3 separate regions of the Homo sapiens genome follow, and all the other regions are linked to region 3. Evidence: promoter capture Hi-C in 16 types of primary human blood cells and fetal thymus (Javierre and others, 2016). All regions are on one chromosome and are shown on one strand. The core of a region is centred on a gene start or on the middle of the fragment in contact, and the rest is flanking DNA. Distances in the headings are between cores, read along the strand shown.

Evidence for each region. Contacts are between HindIII fragments. The CHiCAGO score rates a contact against its expected background, and 5 or more counts as called.
Region 1: a fragment that was not itself captured here is called in contact with the fragment with the promoter of DDX28 in region 3 in 3 of 17 cell types (fetal thymus, naive CD4 T cells and non-activated CD4 T cells); the score reaches 6.2 in fetal thymus.
Region 2: a fragment that was not itself captured here is called in contact with the fragment with the promoter of DDX28 in region 3 in 2 of 17 cell types (naive B cells and erythroblasts); the score reaches 6.2 in naive B cells.

Annotation. Positions count from the first base shown.
Region 1 is chr16:67,715,106-67,719,861 of GRCh38, reverse strand. GFOD2 (Gfo/Idh/MocA-like oxidoreductase domain containing 2) reads left to right here and starts at 546. Exons shown (of 3, transcript NM_030819.4): 1 at 546-699. RefSeq lists silencers at 629-678, 739-788 and an enhancer at 1,149-1,228. The HindIII fragment of the contact is 1,164 bases long and covers 1,500-2,663 here.
Region 2 is chr16:67,677,847-67,682,376 of GRCh38, reverse strand. All of the region lies in intron 2 of GFOD2 (Gfo/Idh/MocA-like oxidoreductase domain containing 2), which reads left to right. Among named protein-coding and RNA genes, the nearest start is that of C16orf86, 13 kb to the right of the region's middle. RefSeq lists enhancers at 3,399-4,354, 4,355-4,530. The HindIII fragment of the contact is 2,317 bases long and covers 1,472-3,788 here.
Region 3 is chr16:68,019,946-68,024,599 of GRCh38, reverse strand. It overlaps DDX28 (DEAD-box helicase 28), which reads left to right and starts at 1,368. Exons shown (of 1, transcript NM_018380.4): 1 at 1,368-3,684. The coding sequence starts at 1,398. The coding sequence ends at 3,020. It overlaps DUS2 (dihydrouridine synthase 2), which reads right to left and starts at 1,316. Exons shown (of 17, transcript NM_017803.5): 1 at 1,249-1,316. RefSeq lists enhancers at 1,216-1,455, 1,166-1,916, 1,917-2,667. The HindIII fragment of the contact is 5,621 bases long and covers 1-2,283 here.

The DNA of each region.
Region 1 (4,756 bases), core at 832-3,331, 310 kb after region 3:
GTCTAACGGCTTCCTTACTCTAGCGGATAGTTTGCTATTTGGTGGGGCATAGGCTTCAGTAAAGAGGCCAAGGGGACTGAGGTTACAGTCTTGAAGAGCACTGATATTTAAGGAACAATCAAAAAACATCCAGAGGAAGAGGAGCCCAGACAGGCACCTGAGAAAACGGAAAAACGAGTCACTGGGGGTCAGGGAGCCAGGAAGTCCGACGAGTTCGAGAGAACTGGCCTTCTGCAGATATGTCCTTGTCCAACACGAAACCGTCTTTCATTCCAGGACAACTGAGGCTACCCACAGCTACCAAAACCTGGTCCCTGACGCCGGTCAGCGGACCGGAGAGAAGCCAAGCTTAGGAAACTGCCGCCTCCGCCGCCGGAAATGAATAACCTGAGCCTCCTAGCCAGGCTGCTTAAGCTCCGCCCCCAAAAAGCGAGCATGCGCAGCTCCCGGCTACGGCCCCTCCCAGCGCAGGCCCATCCCCGTTATGGAGCATGCGCAGTCCTCCTGCCGTCCCGCCCCTCCCTTTCCAGAGCCCCCAGTTCCTTAGAAACCAGGCGGCGCGTTCCCGGTGGCGGCGCCCTGGACTCCCGGGCCCGCGCATCCCCGCCAGCCTTCCTTAAGGCGGATGGGTGGCCCCCGAGACCCCGTCGGACCCATGGTTTCCAGTGCAGCGCGGAGTGGGCGATGCCAGCGTGCCAGGTGAGAGGCGGCCACCGGTGGCGGGTGAGGGCGAAAGAGGGCATGGCGCGGCCGGGAGCGGGCGCCGACAGGGCCTTCTCCGCGGCCCGGCGCCGGAGGTTGGAGGCGTGGACCCGCAGAGCCGGGGTTGGAGGGGGCTTGTTCCAACTGCCTGCAGGCGCGTGGAGTGGAGGGTCGCCTTGGGATTCGCCCTTTCCACCGCAGAAATAGGACCCGCAGGCTTGGTGGTAGAATTATAGGATTTGGGATCCTGGAAGAACCTGAGACATAACCCATCCTTTTACCAGATGCAAAAACCTAGTCTCCCCCGCCCTGTGCCGAGCGGACCACCTGACTGTGTGAGGATGGACGCTTTGTGGATGAGGATGTGTGAGGTGTAGAAGCTCAGACAAAGGGCTCGTGGGGTAGCTGGTTCGTCCCCTTTCAGAATGAGATGGGACTTTTGGGGATAAATCTTTAAGAAACGGGTGTTCAGTTGACAGGTGGAAGAAGGGACACCCCAGAAGGTGCGAGTGGCTCTGCCAGCTCCCATGTGCCCTATGGCCACGTCTCAATGGCCCTGGCCTACCTTTGTATTTGTAGCTCTGGAAGGAAGCAGATGGACTTGAGACAAAAGGTGAAGTGAGGTCTTCCCATCAAGGCCCTATCACACTTAAAAGGTGAGGGAGGAAGAGTGGACAGGGACATGAGGGCTTGGGAATGGTTGTGTGAAGAGTTTACCCTCCAGACTACAGCACGATCTAAAGAACAAGGCAGGATAGAAGAGTTGAAAGCTGTATTGGATAGGCATCAGGGAAGCTTATTTAACTGTCTTATTTATGTTCATTGTTCCCATAATGTTATCCTGAGGGCAAGAAAGTGGATGTCCTTTTAAATGTCCAGAAAGAACTAGGGCAGGGCACCACCTTTGTGATCTGTGGGGCCCAAAAGCCTCTAAAGGAATAGCCCTTAGTGTGTGGCCCTTAAGTTGAAGGGAACAGCATTTAATTTAGAAAAGGAAGGCACTTAAATTTATTGTGATATGGAGCAATATAGAGAAGATGGTTGTTTTTGAGTCGGGGAAGCTAGATTCATTCTTGATAAGGAAACTTATTTCCTTCTGGAAAGCTACACTAGAGAACAAAAGAGTTTTAAGGCCATCCATTTTACAGGAAACGTGAAAAAATTAACTGCTTTGGGATTGGGAGTTTAGAGAACCTGCCTGGACCAAGAGAGGAAATTTTCAACAGACGGTTCTGTTGGTCGAATCCTTATTTCACAGATAAAGATTCTGTTGTGAGAGGTTATCTCTTACCACCTGGTTTTCCCACTTTGCCATGGAATAATCATTGGTCTGGGTCTAATTCTCTATCTATCTATCTATCTATCTATCGAGACGGAGTCTCACTCTGTCACCCAGACTGGAGTGCAGTGGTGCGATCTCGGCTCACTGCAATCTCCGCCTCCCAGGTTCAAGCGATTCTCTGGCCTCAACCTCCTGAGTAGCTGGGACTACAGGCATGTACCACCACGCCCAGCTAATTTTTGTATGTTTAGTAGAGAAGGGGTTTCACCATGTTGGCCAGGCTGGTCTTGAACTCCTGACCTCAGATGATCTGCCTGCCTTGGCCTCCCAAAGTGCTGGGATAACAGGTGTGAGCCACCACACCCAGCCCTCATTATTATTTTTATTTGCTAGGGCAATTGCTATCTGATTTCTATAGTAATACTAGAACACATTGGTAGTAGAACTAGCAATTTTTTAGAAAGCCTCCTCTGACCCAAAACTTAAAAATTAGAACTATGTGATTTTTAAAAGATGGTCCCTGATTCTAATCATCAAAGTCAGTTTGTCCCTAGCTTGATAAAAACTAATTTTCTATTTACATTTGACTTTGCAGCAGGTTTTTCCCCTTGCCCTTATAAGAAGATACATTGGAAGTATAATAATGTTAACAGGTGAAATCAGTTTAAAGAAGAAAGCTTTGGGCCGGGCGCAGTAGCTCATGCCTGTAATCCTAGCACTTTGAGAGACCAAGGTGGGTGGATCACCTGAGGTCAGGAGTTTGAGACCAGCCTCACCAACATAATGAAACCCCGTCTCTACTAAAAATACAAAATTATCGGGGCATGGTGGTGCACGCCTGTAATCCCAGCTACTTGGGAGGCTGAGGCAGGAGAATCGCTTGAACCTGGGAGGCAAAATTTGCAGTGAGTCGAGATCGCGCCATTGCACTCCAGCCTGGACAAGAGCTAAACTCTGTTTCAAAAAACAAAAAAAGAAGAAGAAAACTTTGTCTTGGCTTCATAATTCAGCATCATACCATAACTATGGGTATTGTGACTGTGCTTTTTACCAACTTTTCTTGCACCTGTGGGGTTATTTTGTATAAATACCTCAGGAGTTATAATGGGGCATTATCAAAAGCAAATGTAACCTCTGGGGAAAATCAGTACTGTTAACCAAATTCTGTCAGAAAGGCTTCATGAAAATCATTGTGTTCTGTGCAGAAACCTTCATTACTTTCACGTTGACCCAGAGGAAGGTAAGACAAGTAGGCCAAAATCAAGTCAAGGTAAAATGGAAGGGAGCAGTTGCCACCTGTGGAACTGGATGGACTGTGGGAGGGTGTTTTGAACGTGGGCACAAATACTTTGAATGAGCTTTTGGAGAGGGTACTGCTTAAATACGGCTGTGGTGTGACCTGTGGATTTGTGTGAGTTTTCTGAACTCCAATCAGAAAAACACTTGTTTTCAGAGAAAGGTAGACTTACAGAGGACTCTCAAAAGTCCTGGTTGCTATGACAGTGAAACCTTTGACAAATAATTACTTAACTTCTATGCCATTTTCTGGAGCAGCTGAGGGCAGTTATCATATCTGGCCTGTAATAAAGTAATCAACAGTGTTTGACAGGCCAACCATGAGGAAACCCTACCAGATAAACCAGCAATGCTAATAGAAGCTACTTTCACTGAACTGATTTTCTAGTTTTCCCATAAGAGGAGAAATGGAATGGGGATGCAATGTCATCTGATGTTAGAAGTTGAAATGCAGAGGTCGGTGTTCAGAAAACACAGGATCAGAGAGACCACTAACTTAGAAATAGGAAAAGTGCCTTTCTGATGCCTGAAAAGTCACTCATGCATATTTATTTTTAAATGTTTATTCATTTTTGAGACAGGGTCTTGCTCTGTCACCAAGCCTGGAGTACAGTGGCGTGATCACAGCTCACTGCAGCCTCTGACTCCTGGGCTCAAGTGATCCTCCCACCTCAGCCTCCTGAGTAGCTGGGACCACAGGTGCATGCCACCATAGACAGCTAATAAAACAAGTTTTTTTTTTTTTTGTAGAGATGGGGGTCTCTATAACAGGGGGTCCAATTCTAGAACAAATCCACAATTGGAATTAGAGTACATCTAGGAAAGAATGGAATTGGAGATTTTGCTATTTTTGAGAACTTATATACAGTATAGTAATGGAACATTATCTTTCTTGCATTCAAAAGTAGTAGATTTATATTAGCAAACTTAAAAGCAAACTGAAATTTGGAGTCTAAAAGTCCTTATTACTTGAAAATTTAAATGGCAGGTGTTTTAAAAAGTGAGAATGAAAGACACTTGAAAAGCTTGGGTTCATGAAAGTTAGAATGGTAGGAGATACTGAGAAAAACATGAAAGCAGGAAGAATTCCCTACACTCTAACACCTCCTTATAAATTAGACATTGGGTTGGGAATGAGCTCACTGAAGTACCTTGTCTTCAAAGACAAAAAAAAATTTTCTCTCATGGTGATGTGAATAAACACTTAGAAAATATGGATTAGAGCCAGGCGCGGTGGCTCATGCCTGTAATCCCAGCACTCTGGGAGGCTGAGGCAGGTGGATCGCCTGAGGTCAGGAGTTGGAGACCAGCCTGGCCGACATAGTGAAACCCCGTCTGTACTAAAAATACAAAAAATTAGCTGGGTGTGATGGCGGGTCCCTGTAATCCTAGCTACTAGGGAGGCTGAGGCGGGAGAATTGCTTGAACTCGGGAGGCAGAGGTTGCAGTAAGCCAAGATCGTGCCATTGCACTCTA
Region 2 (4,530 bases), core at 1,381-3,880, 340 kb after region 3:
TTGGCACTTCTGTGGTTCATTAGAAAAACACTAAGTTTGCAGGCCAGGCTTGGTGGCTCATGCATGTAATCCCAGCACTTTGGGAGGCCGAGGCGGGCGGATCACAAGGTCAGGAGTTTGAGACCAGCCTGACCAACCTGGTGAAACCTCGTCTATACTAAAAACACAAAAATTAGCTGGGCGTGTTGGCACGTGCCTATAGTCCCAGCTACTCAGGAGGCTGAGGCAGGAGAATTGCTTGAACCCAGGAGATGGAGGTTGCAGTGAGCCGAGATCACGCCACTGCACTCCAGTCTGGGTGACAGAGCGAGACTCCATCTCAAAAAAAAAAGAAAAGAAAAGTAAAAAGAAAACATTTTTGTAGAGACAGGATCTTGCTGTGTTGTTCAAGCTGGTTTCGAACTCCTAACCTCAGGCAATCATCCTACTTTGGCCCCCCAAAGTGCTGGAATTATAGGTGGGAGCCACTGTGCCCAGCAGATTTCAGCTTCTCCAATCTCTCCCTTGACTTCCTGGCAGGAGAGCTAGATAAACTCAGGTAGACATGTCTTTCATGGCTACCCAAAGACTCTGTACAGCTAGCCCTCAGGAGCCTGTTTAAGTCAAGATGTCCTTGCAGTCCCACACTGATACTACTGAGCCCTAAGTTTAAGAGTGCTGTTATTCAGGGTTGGGCTCAGTGCCTCACACCTCTAATCCAGCACTTTGGGAGGCCAAGGTGGGCAGATCGCTTGAACTCAGGAGTTAAATACCAGCCTGAGCAACATGATGAAATCCCATCTCTACCAAAAATACAAAAAATTAGCTGGGCACAGTGGCGTGCACCTGTGGTCCCAGCTACTTGGGAGGCTGAGGTGGGAGGTTAGCTTGAGCCCAGGAAGCGGAGGTTGCAATGAGCCAAGATTATACCACTGGGTAACAAAGCGAGTCCCCATCTAAAAAAACAAAAACAGACTATTTTTCAGATTCAAGAAGAGAGGTCTTTCCCTCTTTCCTCACCTCTTGAGGCATGAAACAGGAATTCCTTATCCTAGTTTTATCACCACCAAACTCCTAGCAGTCATAAAAGTCCTTTTTCCTCTAAACCCACCTCCTCTCTGCCTCACACTGCAGTATCCACTCTGTCGCCAGCAGCGAGGCATTATAGCAGGAGGCTTCTGAATTGGCCAGAACAGCAGCTCTCAGGTGGGGTGTCTGAGAACCTCATTTCCTCATTACATCCCTCCCTGGTCAGCCATATGTGTTCAGCAGCCAAATGGCAAAATTCACCCCCAGAACTGTGATTGTCTTCCCTAATCTGGAAGGCCCACAAGTGTGGAGAAGCACTGGAGACCCTCCAGAAGCAGTAGTGCTAGCAGTCAGGGGCTACTCTCCCTGCCGGGCCCCGTGCAAGGGCCTGGCCACCCTATCCCAGGTATGTGACACTTGGCTGGCTGTTCTTTATTGTCCTGCTAGTACCTGTTGTAAAGCTTCTTTTATTAAAGAAGAGCAGGAGATTGAAGTGTCATAAATTGAAGAGATTCACACCAACACGGCACATGTATACATATGTAACAAACCTGCACGTTGTGCACATGTACCCTAGAACTTAAAGTATAATAACAAAATATGTATTAAAAAAATAAATAAATAAATTGAAGAGATTGAATGATGTCATAGACTACCAATCCACATGCCTTGTTCCTTGCTGCAGCACTGAGGTTTGTAATCCTGGGAGTTTAGACCTACGTAAGATGCCCATAAGTACAAATGACAGATGCTCTGTGGGGTTCTTCAGGGTCAAGGTGGCAGAGGTGGGGGTAGGAAGTGAGAGGAGGGGGAAGGGTTGACCAGAGGCACCAATTTGTCTCCTGTGGGCTTGGTCAGTATGTGAGCTACCAGGGGGCCAGGCTGGGCCTGACTCTCGGAGAGGCCTAATAAACAGTACGTATGATAAAACAACTCCTCTGTATTCGTTTTGATTTTATTTATTTTTTGAGACAGAGTCTTGCTGTGTCATCCACGCTGGAGTACAGTGGCTTGATCATAGCTCACCGCAGCCTCTAACTCCTGGACTCAAGTGATTCTTCCACCCTAGCCTCTTGTGTATCTGGGACTACAGCTGTGCACTGCCACACCTGTGAGCCACCTCACCCAGCCTGAAAATTAGATTTTCTAAAAAGACATTATAAAATCAACATGGGTTGGGCATGGTGGCTCATGACTGTTATCCTGGCACTTTGGGAGGCCAAGGCAGGAGGATCACCTGAGGCCAGGAGTTTGAGACCAGCCTGGGCAATGTAGCAAGACCCTGTATTTACAAAAAGTTTAAAAATCAGCTGGGCGTGCTGTCACTCATCTATGGTCCTTGCTACTTGGAAAGCTGGGAGGAAGGCTCTGTTTGAGCTCAGACCAAGACTGCAGTGAACCAGAATCCCGCTACTGCACTCCAGCTAAGTGACAAAGCAAGACCCTGTTTTTTTTTGTTGTTGTTGTTGTTTTTTTTTTTTTGAGACGAAGTCTCGCTCTGTCGCCCAGGCTGGAGGGCAATGGCACTATCTCAGCTCACTGCAACCTCCGCCTCCGGGGTTCAAGCAATTCTCCTGCCTCAGCCTCCTGAGTAGCTGGGATTACAGGCGCCTGCCACCCCGCCCAGCTAATTCTTGTATTTTTAGTAGAGATAGGGTTTCATCATGTTGGTCAGGGTGGTCTCGAACCCCTGACCTCGTGATCCACCCGCCTCGGCCTCCCAAAGTGCTGGGATTACAGGCCTGAGCCACTGCGCCCGGCCAAGACCCCGTCTCTTAAAAAAAGGAAGAAGAAACTAAATCAGATTTTCAAAGTACAGAACATAGAAATTATTTACCTGGGGCCGACGCGGTGGCTCACGCCCCAGCACTTCGGGAGGCCAAAGTGGGTGGACCACCTGAGGTCAGGAGTTCAAGACCAGCCTGGCCAACATAGTGAAACCCCATCTCTACTAAAAATACAAAAAACTTAGCTGGGCATGGTGGCAGGCTCCTGTAATCCCAGCTAGCTCAGGAGGCTGAGGCAGGAAAGTCACTTGAACCCAGGAGGCAGAGGTTGCAGTGAGCTGAGATCGTACCATTGCACTCCAGCCTGGGCGACAAGAGCAAAACTCTGTCTCAAAAAAAAAAAAAGAAAAAAAAAAGAAATTATTTACCTGGAAAATGTAGTTTCTATGTGAGTCTTTTATTTATTTATTTATTTGAGACAAAGTCTCATTCTGTCACCCATGCTGGAGCGCAGTGGCTTGATCGCAGCAAACTGCAGCCCCAATCTCCTGGACTCAAGGGATCGTCCTACCTCAGTCTCCCAAGTAGCTGGGGCTACAGGTACACGCCACCACGCCTGGCTTATTTTTTATTTTTAATAAATACTAGGTCTTGCTATGTTGCCCAGGCTGATTTTGAACTCCTGAACTCAAGTGATCCTCCCACCTTGGCCTCCCAAAGTGCTGGGATTATAAGCGTGAGCCACCACGCCCAGCCAAGTCTTAAAATCCAAGTCACAATGGGCTTTTTTTCTCTGTATTTACGACATTGGCTGAATCCCTCCCTTGGCGATGGTAATAAAATGTACTGTTGACAGAGCTGTACTGAGCCAGGTACTTTACATATACTGCTTTGGTTGCCTTAGTCCTCCTTTCTTCCCCTGTAACTGTAAAATCCTGCTTTACAGTTATAGTAGTAAACAAAAACCCAGGGAAGTTTAGAAACTTCCCAGATCATCTAGCAGTGAAGTGAGAGAGCCAAGATTTGAGCACAGGAATTTCTGGCTCCAAAGCTTGAGTCCAGCACCAGTAATTGACTCTTCCTGGGTAGTCAGTTGTCCTGGGGCCCATCCATCATGTGGGACATCGGCCATTTCTTTTTCTTTTTCTTTTTTTTTTTTTTTTTTGAGACAGAGTTTCACTCTCGTCGCCAAAGCTGGCGTGCAATGGCGCAATCTTGGCTCACCGCAACCTCCACCTCCCGGGTTCAAGTGATTTTCCTGCCTCAGCCTCCCGAGTAGCTGGGATTACAGGCATGTGCCACCACGCCCAGCGAATTTTGTATTTTTAGTAGAGACGGGGTTTCTTCCTGCTAGTTAGGCTGGTCTCAAACTCCCAACCTCAGGTGATCCACCCACCTTGGCCTCCCAAAGTGCTGGGATTATAGGCGTGAGCCACCATGCCCAGCCAAGACATTGGCCATCTCTATGAAGTTTTCTTAGTTTTTGTTGCAAGATTTATTGTCTGTAGTTACTATTGTTTCTGCTGTAAGCTGGCCCCTCCTGAGCCTGTGTGAACAGAATCCATCTTGGTCCATCAGGGTAAGCTGCACCCTGCAGTGAGCCATCAGAAATAATCTGTGTCTTAACCATTACCTCATCTGAAAACATTCAGAAAATGTTTGGGGGCCTGAGGGAAGATGAGCACCATGGTTACTGAAGATGCACATACCTGGAGAAGGCACATTCTTGTGACCGGTTGCCCCAGGTCACAGGCATCCAGGCCTAAGGCTGCCCCTCCAACCAGGAAGTACCTGT
Region 3 (4,654 bases), core at 119-2,618:
AAAGTTTTTCCTCATACTATTCCAAAAAAAGCAAAGTTTTTATCTTTTCATTGGTATTTGATGAAACTAAAACGTTTTCTCCAGATGTTACGAACCTCCCAGAGAGTTAATCCATAAATATTTACCTTATCTCCCACCCCAGGCACTGCAAATTACAGAAAAGATCTGACACCCATTTTCCAGATCTGTTCAAGAAGTATCTGTTGGGCATGGTGGCTCACGCTTATAATCCCATCACTTTGGGAGGCCGAGGTGGGAAGATCGCTTGAGGCCAGGAGTTCGAGACCAGCCAGGCCTACATAGTGAAACCCTGTCTCTACTAAAAACAGAAAAAATTAGCCGGGCGTGGGTGGTGTACGGCTGTAGTCTCAGCTACTTGGGAGGCAGAGGCAGGAGAATCACCTGAACCCAGGAGGTGGAGGTTGCAGTGAGCCGAGATTGCGCCACTGCACTCCAGCCTGGGTGACAGAACGAGACTGTGTCTCAGAAAAAAAAAAAAAAAAAGTGACTCGTATAGTTCTTGTTTTTACAACCCGAATATCTGAATTCAGGTAAAATATTCTGCCTGACCAGGGCTACATGATAAGCCACGTACTTGATCACTTTGTAGGGTCGCAGCACCCTTCTTACTACTATTTTAGGTAATTCAGGTTTCTGACGGGGAAGCCAGTGGAGCTGAGCGGGCTGCAAGAGGGGTGGGTTCTGGATGAGAAGTTGGGACGCGTGACGAGGGAGTAGAGAGTGAACCTTGGCTTAAAAGGAAGGAAAATAACTGTGAAGAAAAGATGACCCAACTTGAAATAAAACCTGAAGACCTTATCTCCCACTTGAGAGAGAGAAGAAGCTGAAAGCCATCAGCTTGCACTCTGGGCTCACAGACAGAGAGGGTGAGGGGTTGAGCCCAGATCTATGACTTCAGACCCCTGTCTCGGCCCCTAGGCCTGATCATTCATTCAAACTCTCAATAAACACGGATTACCAGACCCTGCGCAGGGAACACATCTGGGAAAACAGCTGCAACCTCGGATACCAGCACGGGACAAGCTATCTCAGGGCAATGAGGAACAACTAAAGAGAATCCCAGGAACCAGGTAACCAATCGCCAGAAGCCCTCCGCCCTCATGGTCCATTGGGTCAAGGCCCCACTGCCGCCTCGTATCGCCAGCCTCCAGTCCTGCCTCCACGACGCGCCCTTCCCCAAGGCTGGCCGGGTCTGGATGTCGCCATCCCCTATTCGGAGCTACAGACCTCGCAGCTGAACTCTTAAAAAGAACCTCGCTTCTTCCTCACGGTGCTCCAGCTCCACACACCGTACTGAGCCTCGCCAGCCACCGTACGCGAGGTCGCGGCGCGTCCGTGACGTCACTGATGTGCGCTTCTCCCGCACTAAGGGAAACATGGCTCTAACGCGGCCGGTGCGGCTCTTTTCCCTCGTGACTCGGTTGCTCCTGGCGCCGCGACGGGGCCTCACGGTCCGCAGTCCCGACGAACCCCTGCCGGTGGTGCGCATCCCAGTGGCTCTACAGCGGCAGTTGGAACAGCGGCAGAGCAGGCGGCGGAACCTCCCGAGGCCGGTGCTGGTTCGACCCGGACCGCTGCTGGTTTCGGCGCGGCGGCCGGAGTTGAACCAGCCGGCGCGCCTCACACTGGGCCGTTGGGAGCGCGCGCCGCTAGCCTCTCAAGGCTGGAAGAGTCGACGCGCGCGTCGGGACCACTTCTCCATCGAGCGCGCGCAACAGGAGGCGCCAGCGGTGCGAAAGCTCTCGTCTAAGGGCAGCTTTGCTGACCTGGGCCTGGAGCCCCGTGTGCTGCACGCACTACAGGAGGCTGCGCCTGAAGTCGTTCAGCCCACAACCGTGCAGTCTAGCACCATCCCCTCACTACTTCGCGGCCGCCATGTCGTTTGCGCCGCAGAAACCGGCAGTGGCAAGACTCTCAGCTACCTCCTGCCGCTGCTTCAACGGCTCTTGGGCCAGCCAAGCCTGGACTCCCTTCCTATCCCCGCGCCCCGAGGCCTGGTCCTTGTTCCTTCCCGAGAATTGGCCCAACAGGTGCGGGCTGTGGCCCAACCCTTGGGCCGCTCCTTGGGCCTGCTGGTGCGGGACCTGGAGGGAGGCCACGGCATGCGTAGGATCAGGCTGCAGCTGTCCAGACAGCCTTCAGCAGATGTGCTTGTGGCCACTCCAGGGGCTCTGTGGAAGGCCCTGAAAAGTCGACTGATCAGTCTGGAGCAACTCTCCTTCTTGGTGTTGGATGAGGCAGACACACTGCTGGATGAAAGCTTCCTGGAACTGGTGGACTACATCTTAGAGAAGAGCCACATAGCAGAAGGCCCAGCTGACTTGGAAGACCCCTTCAATCCCAAAGCTCAGTTAGTGCTGGTAGGAGCCACATTTCCCGAAGGTGTAGGCCAGTTGCTGAATAAAGTCGCCAGCCCAGATGCTGTCACCACCATCACCAGCTCCAAGCTCCACTGTATCATGCCTCATGTGAAACAGACATTTCTGAGACTGAAGGGAGCAGATAAGGTGGCCGAGCTGGTGCACATCCTCAAGCATCGTGACAGAGCAGAAAGGACTGGTCCCTCAGGAACTGTTCTGGTGTTCTGTAATAGCTCCAGCACTGTGAACTGGCTGGGATATATTCTGGATGACCACAAAATCCAACACCTAAGGTTGCAGGGGCAAATGCCAGCCTTGATGAGGGTAGGAATCTTCCAGTCCTTCCAGAAGAGCTCCCGAGACATACTTCTCTGCACAGACATAGCCTCTCGGGGCCTGGACAGCACTGGTGTGGAGCTGGTTGTCAATTATGATTTCCCCCCAACGCTGCAAGATTACATCCACAGAGCAGGGAGAGTGGGCCGTGTGGGGAGCGAGGTGCCAGGCACCGTCATCAGTTTTGTGACCCATCCCTGGGATGTGAGCCTGGTTCAGAAGATTGAGCTGGCGGCTCGCCGAAGGAGAAGTCTTCCAGGACTAGCATCCTCGGTGAAAGAGCCTTTGCCCCAAGCAACCTGATTTTGACAAATCTGATTAAAATGTGATGCTAGAACAGGGATCTTTCCCAGTATCTTGAGTGGGTGACCACACTTGTCAGTGGGAGGCTCTGGGCTGCCCTGTCGGCTCCTTGAGGGCGGGATGAACTGCTTTGTGACTTGGAAAGGTACGCTGCTGGCCAGCATTGGAGAAGAAGCTGCTGAGCATGGCTTTCTGTAGTCTTTAGCAAGACACAAGTGGATTTTGACTTTGTATCATGTCATGATTTCTAACAATAAATGATGTTTTTATGTGCCTCCCCTAAGAATAATTAGCACCGGGGCGGAATTCAGTAGTTTCTGAGGATTCATACACCAAACCTCCACATCTAGGACAAAGGCTCTTTCAGTTGATGTTTTCATTTATAAACATTTAGTTTGTATTTCCTGCCCCCAAAAAGGTATCCATTAAGCCCCCAGGGAAAGGAAAGGAAAGGAAATGTGACTAGCAGTAGACAGAGTTACTCTCTAACAATGCCCAAGACAAACGGGCGTCTTGGCGAAATCTCTGGAAGGTACTGGCAGAAAAGTAAAGGGTAGACGAACACAGAAGTTTTGCTTGTACATTTTCAGGTTCTGCCTTCTATCCCAACTCGGTAGCCGAGAAAGAGGAGAGATGATTAAACGGTTTTACAAAACTGGAAAAATAACCATATAGCATTTTCTTTATATATATATATACGTATATATATATATATATATATATATATACATACGTATATATATATATACACATACATATATATACGTATATATATATATGTATATATATATATACGTGTATATATATATACGTGTATATATATATGTGTATATATATATATACACAAAAAAAAATTACAAAAATCAACCCGGCGTGGTGGCACGCGCCTGTAGTCCCAGCTACTCGGGAGGCTGAGGCAGGAGAATCACTTGAACCTGGGAGGCGGAGGTTGCAGTGAGCCAAGATCATACCACTACACTCCAGCCTAGGGGACAGAGCAAGACTCCATCTCAAAAAAAAAAAAAAAAAAAAGCCGGGTGTGGTGGCTCACGCCTGTAATGCCAGCACTTTGGGAGGCTGAGGCAGGAGGATCACCTGAGGTCAGGAGTTTAAGACCAGCCTGGTAAACATGCGAAACCCCATCTCTATTAAAAATACAAAAAAATTAGCTGAATGTGGTGGTGCACGCCTGTAATCCCAAATACTTGGGAGGCTGAGGCACAAGAATGGCTTGAATTCTGGAGGCGAAGGTTTCAGTGAGCCAAAATTGCACTTCTGCACTCCAGCCTGGGTGACAGAGCTGATATTCTGTCTCAAAAAAAATAACAGAATCCTGAGCCCCACTCCAGATGGGATTAAGCTCTCTAAAGTTTGACCTGAGAATACTCTTTGTAAACTCCCCCAGGTGATACTTGGGCCCTCCCAAATTGATAAACCATTTGTCTATGCTGTACTGCCTTTCCCAGAGTCCCAGCAAATTCCTGTAAGGCTTTGTACCCCCACAAGACAAGAGGGATGCTTCCGGACAAGTACTCTCTCCAGAGCCTTGGAGAATCTGAGTGATCTCATGCTAGCCCTCCTGCCAGAACAGACTTCCCAGGAACCATCCCCTTGATATTTTACCTCCTACCACT